3 separate regions of the Homo sapiens genome follow, and regions 2 and 3 are each linked to region 1. Evidence: promoter capture Hi-C in human tissues and cell types (Jung and others, 2019). All regions are on one chromosome and are shown on one strand. Each heading gives the region's core, a stretch centred on a gene start or on the middle of the fragment in contact. The rest is flanking DNA. Distances are from core to core; before and after follow the strand shown. Region 1 holds the start of NEUROD2 (neuronal differentiation 2). Region 2 overlaps RAPGEFL1 (Rap guanine nucleotide exchange factor like 1). Region 3 overlaps LOC105371767 (a long non-coding RNA gene).

The links. The method cuts DNA at HindIII sites, captures the fragments that hold promoters and counts their contacts. A contact is called where the count stands out against the background at its distance.
Region 2: a fragment that was not itself captured here is called in contact with the fragment with the promoter of NEUROD2 in region 1 in 1 of the 25 tissues and cell types used here (lymphoblastoid cells).
Region 3: a contact is called between a fragment that was not itself captured here and the fragment with the promoter of NEUROD2 in region 1, in 2 of the 25 tissues and cell types used here (dorsolateral prefrontal cortex and spleen).

Annotation. Positions count from the first base shown.
Region 1 is chr17:39,606,419-39,610,807 of GRCh38, reverse strand. It overlaps NEUROD2 (neuronal differentiation 2), which reads left to right and starts at 2,888. Exons shown (of 2, transcript NM_006160.4): 1 at 2,888-3,080; 2 at 4,204-4,389. The coding sequence starts at 4,209. The HindIII fragment of the contact is 16,482 bases long and covers 1-4,389 here.
Region 2 is chr17:40,186,467-40,191,357 of GRCh38, reverse strand. RAPGEFL1 (Rap guanine nucleotide exchange factor like 1) reads right to left here. Exons shown (of 15, transcript NM_016339.6): 5 at 2,380-2,492; 6 at 1,983-2,150; 7 at 827-924; 8 at 596-718; 9 at 1-42. Among named protein-coding and RNA genes, the nearest start is that of MIR6867, 4.7 kb to the left of the region's middle. The HindIII fragment of the contact is 6,392 bases long and covers 117-4,891 here.
Region 3 is chr17:39,019,963-39,024,505 of GRCh38, reverse strand. All of the region lies in intron 1 of LOC105371767 (a long non-coding RNA gene), which reads left to right. Among named protein-coding and RNA genes, the nearest start is that of LINC02079, 4.9 kb to the left of the region's middle. The HindIII fragment of the contact is 5,779 bases long and covers 1-4,543 here.

The DNA of each region.
Region 1 (4,389 bases), core at 1,639-4,138:
AACTTGCTCAAAGCATTCAGCACTTTTTTTTTTTTTTTGAGACAAGGTCTGGCTCTATCACCCAGGCTGGAGTGCAGTGGCGTGATCACAGCTCTCTGCAACCTCTGCCTCCCGGTCTCAAGCGATCCTCTCACCTCAGCCTCCCGAGTAGCTGGAACTACAGGCATGCGCCGCCATGCCTGGCTAATTTTTGTTTTTTAGGCAGAGGCAGGGTTTCACAATGCTGCCCAGGCTGGTCTCGAACTTGTGAGCTGAAGGGATCTGCTGGCCTCAGCCTCCCAAACTGCTGGTATTACAGGTGTGAGCTACCATGCTGGGCCTCTCATTTTTTTTTTTTTTTGAGACGGAGTCTCACTCTGTCGCCCAGGCTGGAGTGCAGTGGTGCGATCTCGGCTCACTGCAAGCTCCGCCTCCCGTGTTCACGCCATTCTCCTGCCTCAGCCTCCCGAGTAGCTGGGACTACAGGCGCCCGCCACCATGCCCTGCTAATTTTTTGTATTTTTAGTAGAGATGGGTTTTCACCGTGTTAGCCAAGATGATCTCAATCTCCTGACCTCGTGATCCACCCGCCTCGGCCTCCCAAAGTGCTGGGATTACAGGCGTGAGCCACCATGCCTGGCTGGGACCAACATTTTTTTAAGTTGGTAATGGGGTTGGCCAGGAATCAGAAGCCCAGAGCATGGGCATGTAATTGAAATATCACAGAGCCAGGAGACTCCAGGAAAAAGGCTACTAGTCAGGATTGAGGACCCTGCTTCAGTAAAAGGATTGCAAAGCCTTGGAGGCTGTGCCCAAACTTGGTGGAGGCTGGCCAGCACTCCTGAGTCTCTGCCCTACCTGAAGCCCATCCTTTGGCCTCTTTCTCTGCCATGCCCAGAATCTCCCCACCACGACTATCTGCCAGAGATGGGATTCGCCTTGCAGACCCAGGATTCGTGAATGAAGGGAAGCATGGTAGGCTTATTTTTAGAGACCACTGAGGCAGATTGTGGGCTTATAAGTGGAGTACTGGTCTGTGGGTCAAGTGCCTGAATTCTAGGCCCAGTTCTGTGTTTCCCCTGTGTGTTCCTAGGCAGGTCAGTTTCCCTCCATGGGCCTCTGTAAGATGAGGAGTTGGAGAGGTACATTCTCAGGCTACTTTCAACTCCCAGCCAAGTGACTCAAGAGTCCCAGGCAGCACCAGCACCCCTATCTCCAAGGCCTCCTGATGTGTGTCTCTATTTAGAACTTAATCCAACCTACCCAACATCAGATCAGTGTCTTACCAGCCCAAGGTCCCTGGGGAGCCTCCTAGAGGGAGAGAGCCCTGCCCACCCAGATTGAGGGTAAAGGCCTCCCCGTGCTCATTTTTGTACCACCACAGTGCTTGGCACATGGTAGACATCAAAATGTGTGTGCTGAAAGTATAATTGAAGTTGTGTATATATGTCAGCTAGAGTGTCTGGAGGGGCAGAAATGTGGGTCTAAAACATACAAATGCTCCAAATGGGGTGTGGGCAAGGGTCTGTCTACACCAGGCTGTGATTACCTGCTCACATACATGTGTCTATCTGAGTAGGGGTATGTTATCTATTTTTCTACACCACAGGGTGAGGAACAGGTATATGTGTGCATGTGTATGCATCCGTGTGTGTGTGTATGTGTGTGTGCATGAGTGTGTGTGTGTGTGTCCAAAGCCACCTCTTCAACCTGTGCCATTTGTATCTGTGTCTGGCCCAATGAGAGTGTTGAAAGGTGAGCCACAAGATAAAACAGCAACTTCCTACCTCCCTTATCAAGACAGCTGTCTGACCTACCTCCCCTTGGCCACTCTTGGGATTACTGGGGTTGGCTTCAGTATTTTCAGATTTTTCAGAAGGGGAGGAGAATGCTTGAGTCTCATCCAGGAACTTAGGCAGTTCTCAGCACTGCCTGCTCCTCCTCCCTCAAATAACCAAGTCTGAAGACCAGGAGAGAAAGCCGCTGGTGGACTGGTCACCTGTCTGGCAGTGGGAGGAGGAGAGTGAGAGGTTTCTAGGTTAGGAATCCAGACTTAGACCCTCCCCTCCACCCCCAGATGGGTGGTGCACAGGCTCATCTCGCGGCCCCTCCCCACTCCACCCTAACATGGATACGCCCCCAACAACCAAGGAAAGATCTCCCATCGGCTGACTCCACAGATACACACATGTCCCCACAGACACACACACGCCCATGCAGAGGCACAGACATCCAGGCACATCTTTCCCTTTCTCTGTCTTTCCCTTGGTTTGAATTTCGTTTAGCCACATATGTTGTGTGTGCGTGAGGGTGGGTGGGGGAGGGGCAGACAGGGATGAGGGATGGCATGGTGCCAACATCTACCTATGGGGCTCGGGCCAGGGACGCCCCTTACAGCCATCCTGGGAGGGGGTCTCAGCTGTCCCTTTGTGGCCAAGGGGACCCTCCTGGGGAGTGGGGGCAAGCACAGAGGTCCTTTCTCCCCAACCCGGGGTCTGGTCCCTGACCCACCTTGGGGGCCTGCAGGGGAGGAAATGGACAGAGCGGGACCCTGAGGGAGCATAGAATTGGCCACCACGAGCCCCCAGTGTCCAGCCTTGCCACCCCATTGTTCCCGTGAGGGGGTCTCTATATACAGGGGGCAACTCCTCCCACCTTCCTCTCAATCCCTGCTTTCCCTGCGTTGGGCGGGGAGGGGAGGGCGGCAGAAATATTTATTTATTTCCTTTATTTATTTAATTTTTTTTTTTTTTTTTGGAGTAGAGAGTGACAGATGGCGGCGGGTCCCGGGGGAGCCGGCTCTCCCCCAGTGCAGACGCATGCCAATCACCGTCTCTCATGTGATAGCTGCTGCCCGTGACGTGCCAAGCCCATATGGCCTGGCATAGAGGCTGGTACCCCGCCTGGTAGAGATGCCACACTCGCTCCGCGGTTCGCATGGCGCTCTGAAGACGCCGGCGCCCGCCGCCTTGAGGAGCCGCTGCCCCCGCTCCCTGAAGATGGGGGAACAATGAAATAAGCGAGAAGATCCCTCTTCTCCCCCCTCTCTCTCTTGCCCCCTCCCCCCCTCCCCTCCCCTCTCCCCTTGACTCCTCTCCGAGGTAAGTTGTCCGAAAGGGAGCGAGATCTGACCCGCCGGTTGGGAGGAGGGGCGGCAGCTTCGGCCGACAGGAGGGTCCTCAAATACCTCCTTCCTGGGATGATGCCCCCCTCATTGGGTGGGCATCGGAGGGGCCCCAGGTTCTCTCTCCCTTAGGGGCTGCAGCCCAGGGGGCTGCAGAGGAGGTGTCTCTGCCTGCGATGGGCTCGGTGGGGGGGGAAGGCAGGATCACGGAGGGGGATATGCGAAGAGGCCGAGACGGAGGACCCCTCCATGGTTGTCCCAAAAAGCCTGCCACCTTTCCCCACCACCGAAAAAAGGGAAGCAAACAAACAAATTTGGATTTTTCCCCCATCAATCCCAAAATACAACGAGATCTGAAGAGCCTTGTGGGAGGGAGTCAGCTTGAAGGGGGAAGGGGGTCCCTGACCGCAGAGGGGACGGACTGGGCTCGCTTCTCTCAGTCTCCTCCCCACGCCCCGCTGCTTCAGTCCTCGCCGCCCAGAGCCGGCTCCGGGAGCTGGGGACGCATCGGCTAGAGGAGACGATCCTCCCGCCTCTGGAATTGGGGGTGCGGGGGTGGGGGCCGAGCAAGGGGCGGCGCGCAGCCAAGTTGCAAATTGGATTAGGGAGCGTGGGGGTGAGAGCCACGGGAGGGGTGAGGGAGCTGGGCCGGGGGGCCCGGGCCGCGAGAGCGCGGAGCGGGGCAGCTGTCCCCACCGGCGGCCGACCAGCCTCTCTCCACCGCCAGGAGAGAACGGGCTTTCAGGGCGAGCGCGCCGCCTCCCCTGGCAAAGATATCTGGTCCCTAAAACCCCCACCCGGTCCCTGCCCTGACCCTGAGAAGAAGCAGGCGCGGGGAGCAGCCCCCCATTCAAGCGAGGGGCGGAGCCGGGGCCCAGCGCCGGGGAGAGGGCCTGGGCCGAGATCCCAGGCCGGCAGCCGGGTAGGGCTGGGCCGGCTCTGGGCGGGGCAGGCGGCGGAGGTGGGCATCCAGGGTAGCCTAGGCAGGAGCCCGCACGAGACTCGGGGGTGGAGGAGGGTTGTGGGGGGGCGTCGGTACCCCAGCGCGCCCCTCACTTTGTGCTGTCTGTCTCCCCTTCCCGCCCGCGGGGCGCCCTCAGGCACCATGCTGACCCGCCTGTTCAGCGAGCCCGGCCTTCTCTCGGACGTGCCCAAGTTCGCCAGCTGGGGCGACGGCGAAGACGACGAGCCGAGGAGCGACAAGGGCGACGCGCCGCCACCGCCACCGCCTGCGCCCGGGCCAGGGGCTCCGGGGCCAGCCCGGGCGGCCAAGCCAGTCCCTCTCC
Region 2 (4,891 bases), core at 2,063-4,562, 580 kb before region 1:
GCGGCCGCGCTCCCCGTGGAACACGTAGTCCACGAACTCCAGCTGCACCCACGGCAGCGGAGGGGCGGCCAGGGCGCCAGGGGGTGAGGGGAGTGGGTGGGAAGATGGCAGTGCAAGGCGATGAGGAGCGAAAGGCAGGAGGGCGGGGGCGGAAGGGGTGGAAAATAGAAAAATAGAAAGGACAGGAGGCGGCAAAGATGCGGAAAAAGAAAACAACCAGCATTAATAATATTTCACCAGCTACTGAGCACTTACTAGGTGCCAGGCATTCGCTCACGGCTGACATCCTCAAGACAACCATCTGCTAGGCATTATTGTCTCTGCCTTATTTTATTTCTTTAATAGTGAATATTTTAAAAATAGAAATCCTGGGTCAGGTTCTGTGTAAACAGCACTTGGGCCCTGAGCCACTGTGCTCTGGGGTCTCTCTCTTTGCGATTTTTTTCAGATGGGGGAACAAAGGTTACGGCCATGCGTTGCCCAAGGGCTTGCTGCAAGTGAGCCTTGGAACCAGGACGTTGTGCTGCGAACACCGTCTCCCAATGGCACATTTCTCCCTCCAGCCCCCCAGCATAGCACCAGCCTCGGTCCCCACCTCATGCACACATCGGAACAGCTCCCAGTGGAAGGCAGTTAGGTGGTTGGCAACGTCCTCAGGCTCCACTCGGTGGATCTCTGTGTCTCCAGGGGAGACCTGGATCTCCTCGGGGAGGGGCACCTGGTGGCAGGCAGGGGCATAGGGGCTGGGCTCCTGGTGGCAGGGTGAGGGATTGCTCACAGCCCTCCTCAGCCCTCCATTCCAGTCAAGGCCTTGGGAAGTTCTTACCAGAGCCTCATAGCTGTCCCGAGTACAGGCAAACAGGTGGCTGTTGATGCCCAGTGCGGTGAAAACACAGTCCTCAGTGGGCTGGAGAAGGACCTTCTCTGCAGGAGAAAGAGCTGCTCATCCTCGGCCCCTGCCGCCTGCACCCTCACACATCCCACACTGACACTGTCCTATCCAAAAACTCCTCACCCCACACTGACACATTCTAGACTAATGGAACTCATCTTATCACTAGTTTATGCCATATTTATCTGGAATTTGTCAAATGATTATTTCTTTTGCATTTATAACTTTTTTTCTACTCCCTTTCTTTCACAGCTTTTCTCTTACTCTGTTGTCCTTGTGACACTGGGAAGGCTGAAATTTTTTCCTACTGTAGAGGAAAACAAAGCTTCAGTGACATTGCTGGCTTTCTGCCTTCCCACTCATCCTGTGTCTTTAGCCTGTGAAATGTGGCATCCTTACATACACAGGGAGGTTAAAGGATCAGAATACAATCCATAGGTGAGTGAGGGGCAGCACTCAGATCAGAACCTGAGTCCTAGACCAGTGCCTCCCAAACTTTTTTTTTTTTTTTGAGACGGAGTTTCGCTCTTGTTGCCCAGACTGGAGCACAGTGTCTTGATCTCGGCACTGCAACCTCCGCCTCCGCGGTTCAAGTGATTCTCCTGCCTCAGCCTCCCAAGTAGCTGGGATTACAGGTGCACACCACCATGCCCAGCTAGTGCCTCCCAAACTTTAGTAGGCATAGGAGTCCCCTGGGGGGTCCTGTCCAAATGCTGATTTGAACAAGACCAGCAGGTCGGGGTGGGGTCGCAGATGCTGCATCTCTTTTAGAGACAGAGTCTTGTTATGTTGCCCAGGATAGGGCGCAGTGCCTATTCACAGGTGCAATCATAATGTACTACCTTGGATTCCTGGGCTCAAGCAATCCTCCTGCCTCAGCCTCCTGAGTAGCTGGGACTGCAGGTTTGCACCACTGCACCCAGCAAGATGCTGCATCCTAACAAGTTCCCAGGCGATGCACATGAGGCTTGTCCCGGGACCATACTTTGAGTAGCAAGGGCCTAGAATTCAGTCTCTACCCCTCCCCCAGAGCCCTGAGCTTGTGAGTTTCTCCTCTCGGAGCATCAGCCCAGTTCTTCCTGACCCTCACCTCCAGAGGAGGACACAGCTACCAGGATGAGGGAATCCTCACGCCCCGCGGGCTCCTCTGAATATTGAAGTTTCTCCGTCACAGAGCCCAGAATGTCCTGCACAGATGCTGAAAGGCGGCTGCGTATGGTCACATAAGAGTGGTCAGGCATGTATACACGGCAGAAGACTGGACGGAAACAGGAAAATGGCTTTCAACAGAGGGCAGAGTGGCAGCAGCTGGCACAGTCTCCTCCAGGGTGCCTCTATTCCCCACCAGAGGCTGGCCTCTGAAGAAGGTCCTGTGAAAGGGGCTGGTTCTACCACCCAGGGAGATGCCACTGAGGGTGCTCAAGACCCAGAGATATGTCCCCCTGAGCCACTCAGGACACCCTGCCCCTCCTAATGCCCACACTCACTCTCATCAGAGCCCCGGAAGGCCACCCGGGTCTGCAGACAGGAGTCTATCCGGCGGAAGTGGCGGAAGAGTGGCTTCACCTGCTTGCTGGGTGGCTGGTTCTCCTCTGGAATCCTGGCATGGACACAGCTGGGCATCAGCACGCCCTGCCAGGCATATGGACAACCAACACCAAGCAGGCAACATCAAGCAAGAATATCAGAATTGGGTCAAGGATGCACCAGCAGCAATTTCAGGTGGTTAAGGGGGTCAGAAGAGAGGACAATGAGCAGTATGGGATAATTATCCAAGTAACCCTAATCAAATGCCACCTCTTCCATGAATTCTTCTCTGATCCACCCCACCCACCAGGAAGGTCACTTTCTTCTCTCAACTACTATAGAACATTGGGATAATGTTTATGTTCACCTCTTATCTCTTCTATGAGATTGAGAGCTCTTGAGGACTGGGATTTGGTTCTTACTGAGTATCTTTTCATCCACCAGGGCCTAACACACTGCTTGACACATGGTAGGTAGTAGGTCAGCAGCTGTTTGCTGAATTTTGCTGAAAAGAACTTCACAGTCTAGGAAGGAGATAGACAGGCATACAGCTACTTCTAATACCAGGCAGGAGGTGTTGATAATATAACAAAGGTACCAGGAGAGTTATGCTGGTGTGGGGGAAGAAGAAAGCTATTCCTAAAAGGAAGATCTGGGAAGTTTTCATTGAGAAGATGGCATTTGACCTGGGCCTTGGAGGAAAGCAGGAAGAGAAGGAGGTGGAGGCCAGGTGCAGTGGCTCACACCTGTAATCCCAGCACTTTGGGAAGCTGAGGTGGGCAGATCACTTGAGGCCAGGAGTTCAAGACCAGCCTGGCCAACATGGTGAAACCCCGTCTCTACTAAAAACACAAAAATTAGCCAGGCGTAGTGGCGTGCACCTGTAATCCCAGCTACTTGGGAGGCTGAGGCAGGAGAATCGCTTGAACCCGGGAGGGGGAGGTTGCAGTGAGTTGAGATCACGCCATGCACTCCAGCCTGGCAACAGAGCAAGACTCCATCTCAAAAAAAAAAAAAAAAAAAAAAGGCCAGGCGCGGTGGCTCACGCCTGTAATCTCAGCACTTTGGGAGGCCAAGGCGGGCGGATCACGAGGTCAGGAGATCTAGACCATCCTGGCTAACACGATGAAACCCCGTCTCTACTAAAAAAAATATAAAAAATTAGCCGGGCGTGGTGGCAGGCGCCTGTAGTCCCAGCTACTCAGAAGGCTGAGGCAGGAGAATGGTGTGAACCTGGGAGGTAGAGCTTGCAGTGAGCCGAGATCACACCACTGCACTCCAGCCTGGGCGACAGAGCCAGGCTCTGTCTCAAAAAAAAAAGAAAACATGGTGGGAGGAGGGCATTCTGGGGTGGACAATATAACCGACCATGGGAAGTTCGAGAGCGCAGGAGTTGAGGTGTCATGGATGGAGGGGATGTAGGAGATGAGATGGGAAGGATCAGCAGAAGGCAGAAAGGGAAGGGTATTGAATGCTGGGATGTTTCACTTTCTCTTGGAAGCATGGGGAGCAGGGATGCCTTTGGAACAGGAGCATGAAAGATCTCTCTAGTGTCAGCACAGAGAAGGCAGAGAAGGATGCTAGACCACAAGCTGAGGCCTCCCTAAGGGTTGTGGTGGTGGGGACAAGAGAAGAGAGAAACTAAAAGGGCAGAATGGATTCATGGATGGATGGATACAGTGGTGTCCTGAAGCTGGTTCACACTGGCTCACAAGAGCATACTGTTAAGTTCTGGGGAATTTTACCAACTGTTTTTTAAAGAGCCATTAAAATATAAATAAACAAATATATCTCCATATATAAATATATATGTTTTATAAACTTATAGTCAGGCCAGGTGTGGTGGCTTACACCTAGAATCCCAACACTCTGGGAGGCCAAGGTGGGAGGATTGCTGGAGCCCAGCCTGGACAACATAATGAAACCGTCTCTATTAAAAAATAATAATACAAATTAATAAATAATACATAAAATTTATAATCAAATAAGTTGTTACCAAAAAAACAGTTTCCTTCCTGTTTTCACTACTTTTTTTTTTTTTTTTTTGAGACAGAGTCTTGCTCTGTTGTCAGGCTGGCGTGCAGTGCTGCAATCTCGGCTCACTGTAACCTCCACCTCCTGGATTCAAGCAATTCTCCTGCCTCAGCCTCCCGTGTAGCTGGGATTACAGGTGTGTACCACCACGCCCGGCTAATTTTTGTATTTTTAGTACAGACAGGGTTTCACCGTGTTGGCCAGGATGGTCTCGATCTCTTGACCTCATTCTGCCTGCCTCGGCCTCCCAAAGTGCTGGGATTACAGGCATGAGCCACCACACCCAGCCCACCTCTTTTTTTTTTTTTTTTTTTTTTTTTTTTTTTTTTTGAGACGGAGTCTCGCTCTGTCGCCCAGGCCGGACTGCGGACTGCAGTGGCGCAATCTCGGCTCACTGCAAACTCCGCTTCCCGGGTTCACGCCATTCTCCTGCCTCAG
Region 3 (4,543 bases), core at 444-2,943, 590 kb after region 1:
AGCAGGGCTGCCCAGGTTGGAAAGCTGAGAGCAATCAGGGCCGTCTCTTACAAGCAAATAAAGGTCTGTGGTAACTTAATTAGGATCTCTCAGTCTCTAAGCCTTCAGCACTGTGAAGCAGGAGCAACTCTGTTCAGGGACTCTTTGTTAATCATCAGGTTTCCTTTAGGCACAGCCTATAACATTTGTGCCACTGTAGAAGTGAATGGGGAATACAAACAATGCCATTCAATAGCATGACCACTTCCAAGGTTCACAGCAAAGCCGCTGATTATTGTATAAGAATCATACTTACGGCCTGCGCGGCAGCTCACGCCTGTAATACCAGCACTTTGGGAGGCTGAGGCGGCAGGATCACCTGAGGTCAGGAGTTCGAGACCAGCCTGACCAACATGGTGAAACCCCGTCTCTACTAAAAATACCAAAAATTAGCCAGGTGTGGTGGTGCATGCCTGTAATCCCAGATGCTCAGGAGGCTGAGACAGGAGAATCGCTGTAACCCGGGAGGCAAAGGTTGCAGTGAGCCAAGATCACACCACTGCACTCCCGCCTGAGCAAGAAGAGTGAAACTCCATCTCAAAAAAAAAAAAAAAGAAAAGAAAAGAAAGAAAAGGAAAGAAAAAGAGAAAAAGGTTTGGTTGGCTGGACATGGTGGCCCATGCCTGTAATCCCAGCACTTTGGGAGGCTGAGGCAGGTGGAGGCCAGGAGTTCAAGAACAGCCTGGCCAACATGGTGAAACCCCATCTCTACTAAAAATAGCCGGGTGTGGTGGCACAAATAGTGGAGAAAATTATGGATACCACCCTCCAAGTGATTGAGATTATTAATTCTAGGTAGCAGGCCAATTCAGACATATCCACTTATCCTCAATGGCAGGAGGCCTCTCATATCTCCTCACTACAACCCAGTTCAATATTTCTGTCTAAAGTCTAGGATTTCAATGTTGAAAGGAGAATAGGGTTGGTGAAAGAAAATCTACAAGGTTTGCCCTGATGATCCCTTTTGACCATCCATTGAAACCAAAGTAGCAATTTGTCAGTTCTTGGCATCGGGAACTGTTTAGGGCAATGGCCTGACATTGAACTGCCTTATGTCTGGTGCCGAGACGAAACTACAGTCACAAGAGATAGACCCATAAATATCACAACCTGCCAGAGATTTTATTTTGCATACACCTGACATTTATCAATACCAAGTGTGCAAAGAAAAGAAATTGTTTCAGTCTTCCCATTCAGTAGCTCCTGCTTGAGTATGTGACCTGAAGAACAGGTAAAAAGAACCCAACACCCATCCCCCTCCCCAAGTGACTAACCCGTGTTAAATGAAGAAATACACGTACCTCTATGAATTTTACAAGCAACTAAAACAACTAGAGGTTCATCTGCATTTATAAGCTTATTTGGGAATGCAAGTATCTACTGAGTGTTAATTCTTGAAATAATTTACACATTCCTGTGGATTTCTTACATCATCAATTCTTTTTGTTTTGTTTTGTTTTTTGAGACAGAGTCTCGCTCTGTCACCAGGCTGGAGTGCAGTGGCGCCATCCTGGCTCACTGCAACCTCCACGTCCCGGGATCAAGCGATTCTCCTGCCTCAGCCTCCCAAGTAGCTGCAACTATAGGTGTGCAAATCAATAAAGAATTAACTTTACTGTTAATTCTTATTAATTTCTAATACAAATAGATTTGACTTCATTTGTATCATTTGAATTTCATGAATATAATCATATACTACACTTAAAAAATAGACATATAAGAAAGAATTGGTGATGTAAGGCTGGGCACGGTGGCTCACACCTGTAATCCCAGCACTTTGGGAGGCCGAGGCGGGCGGATCACGAGGTCAAGAGATCGAGACTATCCTGGCTAACACGGTGAAACCCCGTCTCTACTAAAAATACAAAAAAAAAAAAATTAGCCGGGTGTGGTGGCGGGCACCTGTAGTCCCAGCTACTCAGGAGGCTGAGGCGGGAGAATGGCGTGAACCCAGAAGGCGAAGCTTGCAGTGAGCCAAGATTGCGCCACTGCACTCCAGCCTGGGCAACAGAGCGAGACTCTATAAAAAAAAAAATTAAATTACTTTCTCCAACTGAAGAGAAGGAGAAATGCATGTTGGGAAGGAGAAATGAAGACTAATTTTCGAATGTTGAGTGCTACCGGGAAGACTGGCCGGTATCATGAGTCACGGTGGAGTCTTTCTGGACAACCAGGATGCTTCAGAAGGACTCGGAGCTGCTGGGTGGTACAGACATTTGTCACCTTGGATAACCTTGCCACAGTTCTTGCTGGCAACAATTTCCCTTCATTTCACTGAAAAAAAAAAAAACAAAAACAAAAACAAAACCCTCTCAGGTGCCTTAGGCCTTTCCTTGATTTTATTTTAAAACATTATTCTCTTTTCTGTATTTATAAAAGGCAAAAAACACAGAAACTAGGTGTATGTGCTAAAGTAGAAAAGAACACTTAAACTAGATAACAGTGGGGGTCGAGTAGTAACCCCAGGCTCTAAGTTCAGTAAATAAATAAATCTAATATGAATTACATTTCTCCTCTCACCTGTCTGTTGAGTTGTAGAACATTTCCTTCATTGCTGCATCAGTGATGGGCTTTATGCTGTGAAATTCTCAAAACCTAAATCTTATGAAATGGTCTCAATGTCCAAAGAGCACTAAAAACTCATTACTTACAAAATGATACCAAGTAACTGTTTCATTTTTTTTTTTTTGAGATGGAATCTCGCTCTGTTGCCCAGGCTGGAGTACAGTGGCACGATCTTAGCTCACTGCAACCTCTGCCTCCCAGGTTCAAGTAATTCTCCTGCCTTAGCCTCCTGAGTAGCTGGGATTACAGCACGCACCACCACGCCTGGCTAATTTTTGTATTTTTAGTAGAGACGAGGTTTCACCATGTTGCTCAGGCTGGTCTCGAACTCCTGACCTCATGATCCACCCACCTCGGCCTCCCAAAGTGCTGGGAATACAGGCATGAGCCACTGCACCCAACCCGTTTCATAATCTTTACCGTACCTTTATATTTGAATGGCTATGTGAAATGGTCACAGGTTAGAAACATCATAGTCCAAAAGTTAAATAATACCTCGCAGGTAATTGTTTCAGTTACAGGAAGTGGAACCAGGACTGAAGAGGATTTTTATGGGTTCAGAATGGGAGAGTGTGTGCTGACTGGTTTGTGAGTATGCCAAAAAGGCTGAAAAAAAAAGGCACCACTTAAAGATGGGCACAGCGTAAAAAAACAGGGAAGAGTAGGCATATGTAAAATAGGTTAAAGGCAGGGATCGATCAGAGGAAAGCGTGCCAAACAGAAAGAGAGGTTCTCAATCTGTCCACGGATTTATCCAAGACTTGTAGCTTGGCTTTCAGCCTTTAAACTGTCTGGTTTGGAGGTCAGCTTTCATTGGGGACCCACCCCTGTCTGCCTAGGATCTGTCTGCCTCCTGCCGCTATCAATACCTTAACTTTAAAATATTGCCTAAAAAATGCTGACAATCATCTGAGCCTCTGGCAAGTCATGATCTTTTTGCTGGTGGAGGGTCTTGCCTCAATGTCATGCCTGCTGACTGATTAGGGTAGTGGTTGCTGAAGGGTTGGGTGGTCATAACAATTTCTTACAATAAGACAACAGTTATGTTTGTCACATTGATTGACTCTTCCTTTCACAAAAGATTTCTCTGTACCATGCACTGCTGTTTGATAGCATTTTACCCCCAGTAAAACTTCTTTCAAAATTGGAGTTGATCCTCTCAAACTCTGCTGCTGCTTATTAACTAAGCTTATGGAATATTGTAAATTCTTTGTTGCCATTTCAACAATGTTCATAGTATCTTCACCAGGAGTAGATTCCATCTCAAGAAACCACTTTCCTTGCTCATCCATAAGAAGCAACTCCTGGCCTGACGCGGTGGCTCACGCCTGTAATCCCAACACTTTGGGAGGCTGAGGCAGGCAGATCACCTGAGGTCAGAAGTTCGAGACCAGCCTGGCCAACATGGTGAAACCCCATCTCTACTAAAAATACAAAAATTAGCTGAGCATGGTGGCAAGTGCCTGTAATCCCAGCTAATCGGGAGGCTGAGGCAGGAGAACCGCTTGAACCCGGGAGGCAGAAGTTGCAGTGAGCCGAGATCACACCACTGCACTCCAGCCTGGGGCACAAGAGCCAGACTTCATCTCAAAAAAAAAAAAAAAAAAAAGGAGCAACTCCTCATCCATTCAAGTGTTATCATGAGATGGCAGCAATTCAGTTTCATCTTCAGGCTCCACTTCTAATTCTGGTTATCTTGCTATTTCCACAACATCTGCAGTTACTCTCCACTGAAGTCTGAACTCCTCAAAGTCATCCATAAGCATTGGAATCAACTTCTTCTAAATTGTTGTTGTTGTTTTTGAGATGGAGTCTTGCTCTGTCACCGAGGCTGGAGTGCAATGGCGTGATCTCAGCTCACTGCAACCTCTGCCTCCTGGGTTCAAGCAATTCTCCTGCCACGGCCTCCCAAGTAGTTGGGATTACAGGCACTCACCAC